Regions from separate parts of the Homo sapiens genome. Here regions 2 and 3 are each linked to region 1. The links are contacts of gene promoters, found by promoter capture Hi-C in blood cells and fetal thymus (Javierre and others, 2016). All regions are on one chromosome and are shown on one strand. The core of a region is centred on a gene start or on the middle of the fragment in contact, and the rest is flanking DNA. Distances in the headings are between cores, read along the strand shown.

Region 1 (3,700 bases), core at 308-2,807:
ACCCCAGCTATTCCTAACACCCAGTTCATACTCCACGTTCTGTACAAAGCCATCCCTAGCTATCCCAGTCAGCCCACACTGGTCTCCATGACATGCATGAACCGAAGTTTTTAGAACCTTTGACACTTATGTCTGCCCTGGATGATTTGTTCATTATCTTATGTTGTTGTCATCCACAGAACAATCTGGAGAATATTCATATATTTAGTCAGCAAATAGCTATTTATTGGGGGCCTTTGTAGGCCTCAATGTTGAGAAGAAGGGTTGGTTGTTTTGGACAGATTGTGTATTTATAAAGCTCTAGCAATTTTTAAATCTCTAGCAGGAACCAAAGCCTTCTTGACAGCCACCTCTCTGAATTATTGTCACTAGCCTCCTTAGGAGAAGAGACAATATAGTTTATACCAAGATTTGCAGTTGTCTAGATATTACTCACTTCAGCTAGCACTGTGCTAGTAGATAACATTCAAAGTTGGTCTCAACAAATATTTTCTCTAGTGCCCATGGAGAGTGGCTGAGAAATACACTCTAAGATGTAAAAGAGTTTGGTATCTAGATCCTCTTTCTTATTCATTTCAAGCCAATATTTATTAAGCACCAACTGCAAGCTAGATACTATTATAGTTAGGAATATAAAGTGGGCCAGGGATGGTGTTTATGCCTATAATCCCAGCACTTTGGGAGGCCAAGGCAGGAGGATTACTTGAGGCCAGGAATTCAAGGTCAGCCTGCCCAACACAGCAAGACCTCGTCTCTACAAAAAATTAAAAAATTAGCTGGGTGTGGTGGCATTTGCCTGTAGCCCTAGCTACTCAAGAGGCTGAGGTGGGAGGATTGCTTGAGCCCAGGGGTTGGAGGCTGCAGTGCGCTATGATGGTGCCATTGAAAACAAAAACAAAAACCAACCAACAAACAAAAAAACAAACAAAAAGAAAACGATACTCAGTCTTTATAGGGAGGTTGGCCAGTCAATAGGTTACTTTATGAGTTGCTAACCCTGGTGAGCAGGAAGTTATGTGGACCAGGAGAGAAACCCTTGGTTCAGCCTGGAGAAAGGAGAGGTTGACCCTAAACTGGAGGGTGGAGAGGACCCTGTTGTGACTCTCCGACTGACTTGTCTTCCTTGATGTCCTTTAAGCCGGAGCTGATTCGGGCTGCTGCCTTATTTCTGAGTTAGCGCTCTTAAGATTGGGCCTCCCAGTTTGAGGAAGGGGCGGGCTGCTGTCTACCTCTGTGAATCTGCCCTGGACCACCCCGGGAGAGAAGGAGGGCTCCGGGGAATCTCGCACATTCCAGGCAAAGGCTCCCGGGCCGCAGCCTCTGTGCCACACCCTTGGCCCGGGCCAGGTGTGCGCCCTCCTCGCTGCGAGGGGGAGCGGGCGGCTGCGGGGAGCGATTTTCCAGCCCGGTTTGTGCTCTGTGTGTTTGTCTGCCTCTGGAGGGCTGGGTCCTCCTTATTCACAGGTGAGTCACACCCTGAAACACAGGCTCTCTTCCTGTCAGGACTGAGTCAGGTAGAAGAGTCGATAAAACCACCTGATCAAGGAAAAGGAAGGCACAGCGGAGCGCAGAGTGAGAACCACCAACCGAGGCGCCGGGCAGCGACCCCTGCAGCGGAGACAGAGACTGAGCGGCCCGGCCCCGCCATGCCTGCGCTCTGGCTGGGCTGCTGCCTCTGCTTCTCGCTCCTCCTGCCCGCAGCCCGGGCCACCTCCAGGAGGGAAGGTGAGTCGGCTTCCACAAGGAAACATCTCAGCCCTGGGCTGAGAATCTGCCTTTCTCTGCAGACCGTGATGGCTGAACGTACCTCCGAGGATTCCCACTTTGTCCAGAAACTTGTTAGAGCTCCCTTCTCCTCCCCTATCTGGGGCTCCTCCAGAGACGGATTTTAAATGAGACTAATATATAAAGCTATCTGCTTTTTAAAAATAGTAAGACAATAAGCTGTGACAAAAGAGGGTCTTCCTTACCTTAAAAATGTTCCTTCTTGATGTCTTTTTTCGACCAAGGGGCCGCTATTTAATCAATAATGTGTTGTTATATACGTTCTTTCCCCAGCGTGTGCTTTTATTAAAAGGTTTTGGTGGCAATGTTTCCCATGACTGTGAACACCACAAAGATTGCAAAGGAACCTCTTCAATAATCCTGTAATTGATGTTTCAAATTTCGGATGGAAAAATGAGCCTTAATAGTATTAGCAATACCCTTAACTTTTGCATCACGTTACTTTTCATAGTATTTTCATGTAATATTCATTCAACAGGCACTTACTGGGCACCTGTGTCATATATCATTTGATCTTATCTAGGGCACCTAGTTGGCTGTCATGTGTTAGACGTTAAGTTCATGTAAACAAAACTTTGTGAGAACCTAGCAACTCTTAACTGTAAGCATGTGTCAGCTATGGCAACATTTTATGGGTGTTTTCCTTGTCACTTAGTTCTATGGATATATGCCTGTATAATTGCCCTGATGTTTTATGTTTATATTGCATCCTGCATCTGATGGCGTTTCAATCATTCTTTCAATAGGTCCAAGACCAAGAGCCATTTCCACACAAGTGCATGCATGAATATGAGATAATGCTCACATGCACATGCAATTGTATAAGCCATTCCCAATATTATTGTGCATTCCGGGTGATGCTGGCCTGAATTGGATTTGAGTGGCATGAATAATGTTTGAGCATGTGTTTGAATGCAATGCTACAGTCCTTTTTGTCTAAAAAAGTCTTGGAATTAACTTCCAACCTATCATCTCTGACTACCATTTTCAAAACCATGTATGATTGCCACCAAAAAAAAAAAAAAGGTGGAGATAAGTATGTGAAATAATGAACATATTAATTTGCCTGACTAGAATACTATTTTACTGTGTATATCGAAACATCATGTTGTATACCTTAAATATATATAGTTTTAAAAAGTGATAAATAAAAGGTTCTGAAAATGGTCATGAAGGGTATGTTCTCTTAGGGCTGGGATAAGAAGTCTCAGCCTAATGGAAGACATCCCCAAAGTAAAAATAGTCTCTGAATATTAGAATTTAAAGGGACTGCTTATGGATCAACTACTTGGAATCTCTTGATTTGAAAAATGAGAAAATGAAAATGTGTTTCTCAAGGCCACACAGGCAGAGATGAAACTGGCTCTTGATCCAGGGGCTCTTAGGCTGGAGCTTTTTGAGCCACATTATAAAAGTAATAAAGGAATAAGATACATCTTTTATACATGATAAGTAATCATTTAAGCAATTTTCTTGTTGGCTATAGTTGAGTACATATATGTGTGTTAGCATTAGGGAACAAAAATAAATATATAGGATGCTATCAATGCTATTTTAATAAAATCAGGCTTAAGAGGACAGAGCTAGGATTCTCACTTCTTAAAGACATACCAGCTTCTGGGCATCCATCTACCCCAAGAAGTCAGAAATACCACTGAGGCTCATTGCCACTTTCCCCTTCCCTGGAGGCAGACTAAGGTTTTATTCTCCCTCCTCAGAGGCCTTCATTTTTGGATTCAATGGGAATGTGAAGTTTGTTGCCAGGGTAGAACACACATGCTTTTTCATTCATGGGATGCTGGGATGTGCTAGAAGTTGGACTGAAAATATGGTATCTGCCATGTCTCAAAGTGACCGTGTCTGAGTGTCCTGTGGGCTGCACATATGAGAACCTAAAGCAGTGATGTTGCTTCCT
Region 2 (3,700 bases), core at 736-3,235, 240 kb before region 1:
TACCTTACATGGCAAAATGGACTTCACAGATGTGATTACAACTAAAGACATTGAGATGTGGAGGTCATCTTGGATTACCCAGTTGGGCCCATTCTAATCACGAGTCTATTAAAAGGGGACTGCCTTTTTAGCCTGCAGTGAAGCAGAAAGATGCAGTGTGAGAAGCACATTGAAGATGAAGGAAGAGGGCCACAAGCCACAGAATGCAGGCTGCTTCTAGAGGTTAAAAAAGGCCAGGAAACAGATTCTCCCACACAGCCTCCATAAAGGTATGCAGCCTTGCATACACCTTGATTTTAGCTCAGTTAGGCCCATGTCAGACTTCTGACCTACAGAGTTGTAAGATAATAAATTTGTATTCTTTGAGCCACTGAGTGTGGTAATTTGTTGTGGCAGCAATAGAAAACTAATACAGCATCTAAAGAAAAAGCGATCAGGGGCCCATAGGAATAAATTATTGTGACATCAGAACAAAGAGTATTATATAGCATTATTAATACTTCAACTGAAGTAAGACTAAAGAAGCAGAGTCAGATAAAACAACAATATGAATTGTGCAGCACTATCTTAAGAGGTCCCAAGAGCCATTCTCACTTGTTTTTCTGCCACAAAAGAATTAGAATCTGCCAATATACTGTTTTGCTTTTTCCTCTGTTCTTATGCTTCATCCTGTCTTTCTAACATTTAGAGGACATTACTAGACCCTCACAAATTCTAAAGCAAGGCAGGGACAGATTAAATAATCAATGTATTGCAGGTAAAACCTTAGAAATTGATAGAACTTTAAGGTTACCTAATCCACTGAGTTTCCATGGAACTTTAGAGATCTTGAAAAGTTTTATGGAGTATAGGGGCTATCATGAGGTATGGAGAGAGCTGCTAAGACACCATCATCCATTTCAATCAGAAATGTTCTGCTTTAATGTTAAGCTTCCACATAAAACCTGATTGAAAAAAAACCCACAAACTTATACTAAAAAAAAAAAAGTCATAAAGCCAGATGAAAACCATTTTTATCCAGATGAAAAAAATCCAGAGAAGTTGTGAAAGATCTCGGCAAAGCTACTCAAAGTCTGAAGATGAGCAAACCTCTACAAAACAGAGTACTACTGGCTGGGCATGGTGGCTCTGCCTGTAATCCCAGCACTTTGGGAGACTGAGGTGGGTGGATCACTTGAGGTCGGGGGTTCGAGACCAGCCTGGCCAACATAGTGAAATCCCGTTTTTACTAAAAACACAAAAATTAGCCGGGTGTGGTGGTACACGCCTGCAGTCACAGCTACTCAGGAGGCTGAGGTGGGAGGACTGCTTGAAACCTAGAGGAAGAGGTTGCAGTGAGCTGAGATTGCACCACTGCACTCCAGCCTGGGCAACAGAGTTAGACCTTATCTTGAAAAAAAAAGAAAAAGGAAAAGAAACAGTATTACTGAAATATTAACTAATAGAGTCTTATTGAAAAATTAACTAATCCCAATAATCTTTTACATTCCTTTGTAATCTCTGTGACTGAAAATATGGTATTCTTTTTTTTTTTTTTTTTGAGATGGGGCCTCACTATGTCACCCAGGCTCACTGCAACCTCTGCCTCCCAGGCTCAAGCGATCCTCCCACCTCAGCCTCCTGAGTAGCTGGGACCACAGGTGTGTGCCTGTTTTTCTGGTAGAGATGGGGTTTCACCATGGTGCTCAGGCTGGTCTCTAACTCCTGAGCTCAAGTGATTCACCTACCTTGGCCTCCCAAAGTGTTGGGACTACAGGCGTGAGCCACCACGCCCAGCCGCCATTCTTTATCTGTAAAACTGACACTGACTTTTCCACAGAACACATATTTTTAAATTGTTTTCAAGTAGTATATAATACAACAAGTTACATACATAAGTTTTTCTTGTATCCAAAAATACAGATTTAAACTAACTATCTGGGGTAAGGGTATCATTTGTGGTTATAAATATTAATTTCTATATAAGGATAATTGACCTTTAACAGAATCAAACATGCCACAATGTTTAGCCTACAGGCCTAACAAAGAAAAATCTTATTAGGGCCGGGTGCAGTGACTCATGCCTGTAATCCCAGCACTTTGGGAGGCTGAGTCAGGCAGATCACGAGGCCAGGAGTTCGAGACCAGTCTGGCCAACATGGTGAAACCCCTTCTCTGCTAAAGATCACAAGGTTAGGAGTTCAAGACCAGCCTGGCCAACAGGGTTAAACCCCGTCTCTACCAAAGATACAAAAAATTAGCTGGGCATGGTGGCATGCGCCTGTAATCCCAGCTACTCGGGAGGCTGGGGCAGGAGAATCGCTTGAACCGGGGAGGCAGAGGTTGCAGTAGCCGAGATCACACCACTGCACTCCAGCCTGGGCGACAGGACGAAACTCTGTTTCAAAAGAAAAAAAAAAGAAAAATCTTATCAGATAAAGGCTTGGAAGATATTATACTAGAAGGGTACTTTTTTTTTTTGAGACGGAGTCTCACTCTGTTGCCCAGGCTGGAGTGCAGTGGCATGATCTCAGCTCACTGCAAGCTCCGCCTCCTGGGTTCACACCATTCTCCTGCCTCAGCCTCCCTAAAAAGGGTACTTTTCAAAGGAAAAAAATTTCAAATTTTCCCAGTAGTTTTCTGATCCATTTCTTTTTTTTTCCTCATCTGAACTAAACTTCTTAATTCAGATAAATGAAGATTAAAGGGAAAAGACAGAAAAAGAAGGCCCAAGTTTGTTAAAGACTGAATCACTAATTTTATAAGAAATGCATTTTTGTTATTTTTACATTAGTTGAGCAAAAACTAGGCTAATAAATATTGTCTGATACTACTAGATTCCATTTAATGATAATGGTTTACAGGCACTAATATTCCCCTAACCTTCTTTTTACACTATTAATTTTCTCGGAAACTTAAAACAGAAGTAAAAATGTGTCAACTCTTGTGTATCAATCTCCAAATAATAAAGTCATATTTTAGTCTTTAAAAGAACTGATTCAAAAAGAACAAAGATCAAATAAAATTTATTTACCTCAACCAATATACCAACAAAAGGGATAGAAGCTTCTTCATATTTCACAAAGAATACACTGGGATTAGTCTTCCAGACTCCAAGCCATTTGTCTTTCAACTTTAATTTTTCTGATAGGTATTTACCCATAACTTCATCAGCATCTTCTGCCTAACAAGAGAAAAAATGGATCTACATATAAATATATGAAATTATAGATTTTAAACTAAGTGGTTTTTTTTTTTTTTACTGATTTCTATTTTAAAATGGAACCAATATAGCCTTAAATAATGAATGACCTGGAAAATTACAGATTTTAACTGAAACCGCATCTAGTGGAAAACATCACCAACAAAAAATTAAACTTAAAAGAGATCTATTCACTCGAATAATTCATAGATAAGACAGCTAGTTATTGTTTATGTCTTAATTTTCAACTTTTTATAAATATCACTGCAGTGAATATGCAGGTACACAAATTCTTCTGCTACAACTTAAAAAAATAGGTTAGAAACATGAAATATTTGCTCTATTCCGTTTTATCAGATATGTATTTTCTATAAAAGAAAGTCATGCCACCAGGCACGGTGGCTCATGCCTGTAATCCCAACACTTTGGGAGGCCGAAGCGGGCAGATTACCTGAGGTCGGGAGTTCGAGTCCAGCCTGACCAACTGGAGAAACCCCATCTGTACTAAAAAAAAATACA
Region 3 (3,700 bases), core at 534-3,033, 200 kb before region 1:
TTGGCCTCCCAAAGTGCTGAGAATACAGAGGTGAGCAACTGTGCCTGCCTTTAATATTTATTTTAAAGTATATTTTTACTGGATGTAGAAGTCTAGGTTGGCAGGTTTTCCCACCATCATTTTGAAGATACGATTCACTGTTTCATGGCTTTCATTGTTTCTCTTGTGAGTGAGTAGTCAGTCACATTGTTGCTCTACTGCAGGTATCTGAGTTTATTTGACTTCTTTTGTAAAAATTTTTTTTCCCTTTGTGTTTGAGATTCAGCAGTTATACACTGATGTGCTTAGGTGTGATTGTCTTGTATTTATCTTGTTTAAGAGTCTCAATATTTCTTGAACCTGTACAGGGCTCAATTTTTTTTATCAGTTTTGGAAAATCCTCACCCATTATCTCTTTAAATATTGCATCTGCCCATTTTCTCTCTCTTCTCCATCTGCATCTCCACTTATATGTAGGTTAGACATTTTTAGTGAGTCTTATTTGTTTTTTATGCTTGTTTTGGTATTTCCCCTCTTTTATTCTCTCCATCTTCAATCTGTCTCTTTCATCTGACCTATATTTCAACTCATTAATTCTGTCTGCATTTATGTATTCTGTTGTTAAATCCATCCTTTGAATTCTTAATTTCAGGTTTTTTCAGTTCTAGAATTTCCGTTTGATTCTTTATATTTATTTTTAGTTCTTTGCCAAATTTCTCCATCTGAGATTTTCTTTCTATTGTTTTTATCTCTTATTTTGGGCAGACTTTTAGTTCCTATTTTGGTTTTAAAATCAACTGTTGAGGCCGGGCGCAGTGGCTCACGCCTGTAATCCCAGCACTTTGGGAGGCCGAGGCGGGCGGATCACCTGAGATTGGGAGTTCGAGACCATCCTGACCAACATGGAGAAACCTCGTCTCTACTAAAAATACAAAAACATTAGCTGGGCGTGGTGGCACATGCCTGTGATCCCGGCTACTCGGGAGGCTGAGGCAGGGGAATCGCTTGAAACTGGGAGGCGGAGGTTGCGGTGAGCCAAGGTCGCGCCATTGCACTCCAGCCTGGGCAACAAGAGCAAAACTCCGTCTCCAAAACAAACAAACAAACAAAAAAACCAGTTGAATATGGAAAATTGCAGCCTCAAATGCCAGCTCACCTCTCTTGGTTTGTATGTTTGGCTATTTATTATTCTGTGTCAGATATTGTGTATTAAAAATTATGCAAAAAATTAATTTTGAGGCTCTGGATGACATTATCTTTTTCCACAGGTGATCTCCTTCTGCTCCTGACAAACAGGTAAGCTAGGGAAGATCAGTTTAATTTATTCAGGATTTAAGGTTATTCACTGTTTGGCTTCAGCCTTTTTGAGGTCTGGTCTCTTTCTGATCTACTTTTACTTCCAGAATAGAGCCTGTCAGGTCTCATTCAAAAGCCTAGTGCTTACTGGGATTTCTCCTCCTCCTTCTTGGGCCTGGGATTCCAATTTTTGTCTTTCTTTTACCATGAAATAATGAAAACTCTGCTAAGCATTGCACCCTTTGGCTGCTGCTTCCACTTTCAGAAGTGACAAGCACATCAAGGGAAAAAGCAATCCTAAAAATCAATGGCTTTTCTCCTCCTCACAGATCTCAGTCCCGCAAGGTTTTATAGCATTGGAAACTTTCTCTTTAAATCAGTTTGCTTGACCAAGCAATACATTACCACATGTGAGATAAAGCTTTATTTAATGATGCTTTTTTTTTTCCTTAACAGACAGGGTCTCACTTTGTTACCCAAGCTGGAGTACAAAGGTACAATCATACAGTTCACTGCAGCCTCAAACTCCTGGCCTCAAGCTATTCTCCCACCTCAGCCTCCTGAGTAGCTGGGATTACAGGCATAAGCCACTGCTCCAAGCTTTAATGATGCTTAATAGTTAAATATGTTAGCTAACCCAATTTCTACAAGGTACAGTTGAAATTTTTAGTCTCCCCAATAAATGGTCATATAGCTTCTGCTTAAATATTTTCAGGAAGGACAAGTAGTTACACTCAAGCCAGTCCATTCCACTTTGGGATGGCTATAATTATAGTAATGTCTTATTACATTCAACAATAACAACAATAAAACCCACTTATTTTCTCATAAATTTGTTAGTCCTAGTGTTAGCTTCTAAAACAACAGAGAACAAATTATTTTCCCTCTTTTCTAATGCATTCTTTAAAAAATATTAGTGTGGCTGCTGCATTCCTTTTCATTTAAAACAAACAAACAAACAAACTTCTACTGGCTGAATATTAGTAGCTTTTTTTTTTTTAACCTAATCTCTATCAAGCCAGGCCTTCCCCTGGCTATGATGGTGAGTTATTTTTAGACATATATATGGGATTTTATATTTAGAACTACTAACTTTCTTTTTAAAAAATGTAGCTTAATATCTCAGTCTATTGAAATCACTTTAAAACTAGGTTTTTGTCATCCTCATAAACTTTGTGTCATCTTAAAAGTGGCAAACATTCCTCCAAATTCTTAGGGACATTTATAAAGATTGTTGAATATTAAAGTGCCTTGAATAGATTCCTGTGGAAGTTGATGAGAGACTTTTCCAAGCTTGCTCCTCAGCCATTAATCACATGTTTGGGCACATTCTACAGCTAGATTTAAGTCCACCTAAAATTTATTGTCATTCCTATTTTTCAACCATCTTATTCACTAGAATATTTTCTGCGCCAAAGTCCTTAGAGAAAAAATTCTTATGTCTATAGCTTTCCTATAATCAATCAACTTAGCAATGCTATGAAAAAAAGAAATGAGTTTTATGTGCCATGACTTATACTCAATGAACAAATCACACCAGTTAATCCAGGTTTTTGGAAGGTGGGACACACATTTTTAAATGAATATATACAAATAGAATAACATGTAGGCTAAGTAAAAAACTAAGAAAAGACATTATTAGAACTTGGAATTTTATAAATGCTTGTTGAACGTAATAGAAAATTTTACTTACTAGAGTCAACTGAATGATTTATCTAATTCTTTTTATTTACTTTATATCTGCACATATTTTCTCTGTCCAATTCAGTTGTACTCTAATTATATTTCTTTTGCTCCTCATTTCTACTTCCATCCCCAATATCTAGTGTAATACCAGGCACATTATAAGAACTCAATTGTTGGTTAATTCACTTTCTACCAGTGACATCAGTGAAATGCTTTATTCATTCCTTCAGTAAATATTTATTTATTTATTTATATTTTTTATTTTTGAGACAGAGTCTCACTCTGTCACCCCGGCTGAAGTGCAGTGGCATGATCTCAGCTCACTGCAACCTCTGCCTCCTGGGTTCAAGCAATTCTCCTACCTCAGCCTCCCTAGCAGCTGGAATTACAGATGCCCGCCACCTCGTCCAGCTAATTTTGTATTTTAGTAGAGGTGGGGTTTCACCATGTTGGCCAGGCTGGTCTCGAACTCCTGACCTCAAGCAATCCACCCGCCTCAGCCTCCCAAAGTGCTGGGATTATAGGCGTGAGCCACCACGCCCAGCCAGTAAATATTTATTGAACCCTTAATTTATTCTAGGCATTGTACCAGGAACTGGGCTACATTAGCACAATGCTCCCAAGTTGCTGTCAGTCTGATACAGAACTGGTGAGCAGACATCCAGACAAGTGGATAGGCACTTAGAATCCCATATATTAAAAAGCTAGTAAAAGATAGAGTTCCTTTACTTTTAAAGGC

What was found. The method cuts DNA at HindIII sites, captures the fragments that hold promoters and counts their contacts. A CHiCAGO score of 5 or more calls a contact.
Region 2: a contact is called between a fragment that was not itself captured here and the fragment with the promoter of LAMC2 in region 1, in 2 of 17 cell types (M2 macrophages and megakaryocytes). The highest score is 5.6, in M2 macrophages.
Region 3: a fragment that was not itself captured here is called in contact with the fragment with the promoter of LAMC2 in region 1 in 1 of 17 cell types (M1 macrophages); the score reaches 7.1 in M1 macrophages.

What each region holds. Positions count from the first base shown.
Region 1 is chr1:183,184,707-183,188,406 of GRCh38, forward strand. It overlaps LAMC2 (laminin subunit gamma 2), which reads left to right and starts at 1,558. Exons shown (of 23, transcript NM_005562.3): 1 at 1,558-1,725. The coding sequence starts at 1,647. RefSeq lists enhancers at 843-1,425, 928-2,127 and a silencer at 1,532-1,601. The HindIII fragment of the contact is 12,597 bases long and covers 1-3,700 here.
Region 2 is chr1:182,948,305-182,952,004 of GRCh38, forward strand. It overlaps SHCBP1L (SHC binding and spindle associated 1 like), which reads right to left. Exons shown (of 10, transcript NM_030933.4): 2 at 3,014-3,163. Among named protein-coding and RNA genes, the nearest start is that of SHCBP1L, 3.0 kb to the right of the region's middle. The HindIII fragment of the contact is 2,115 bases long and covers 929-3,043 here.
Region 3 is chr1:182,985,604-182,989,303 of GRCh38, forward strand. No RefSeq gene overlaps it. Among named protein-coding and RNA genes, the nearest start is that of SHCBP1L, 34 kb to the left of the region's middle. The HindIII fragment of the contact is 179 bases long and covers 1,695-1,873 here.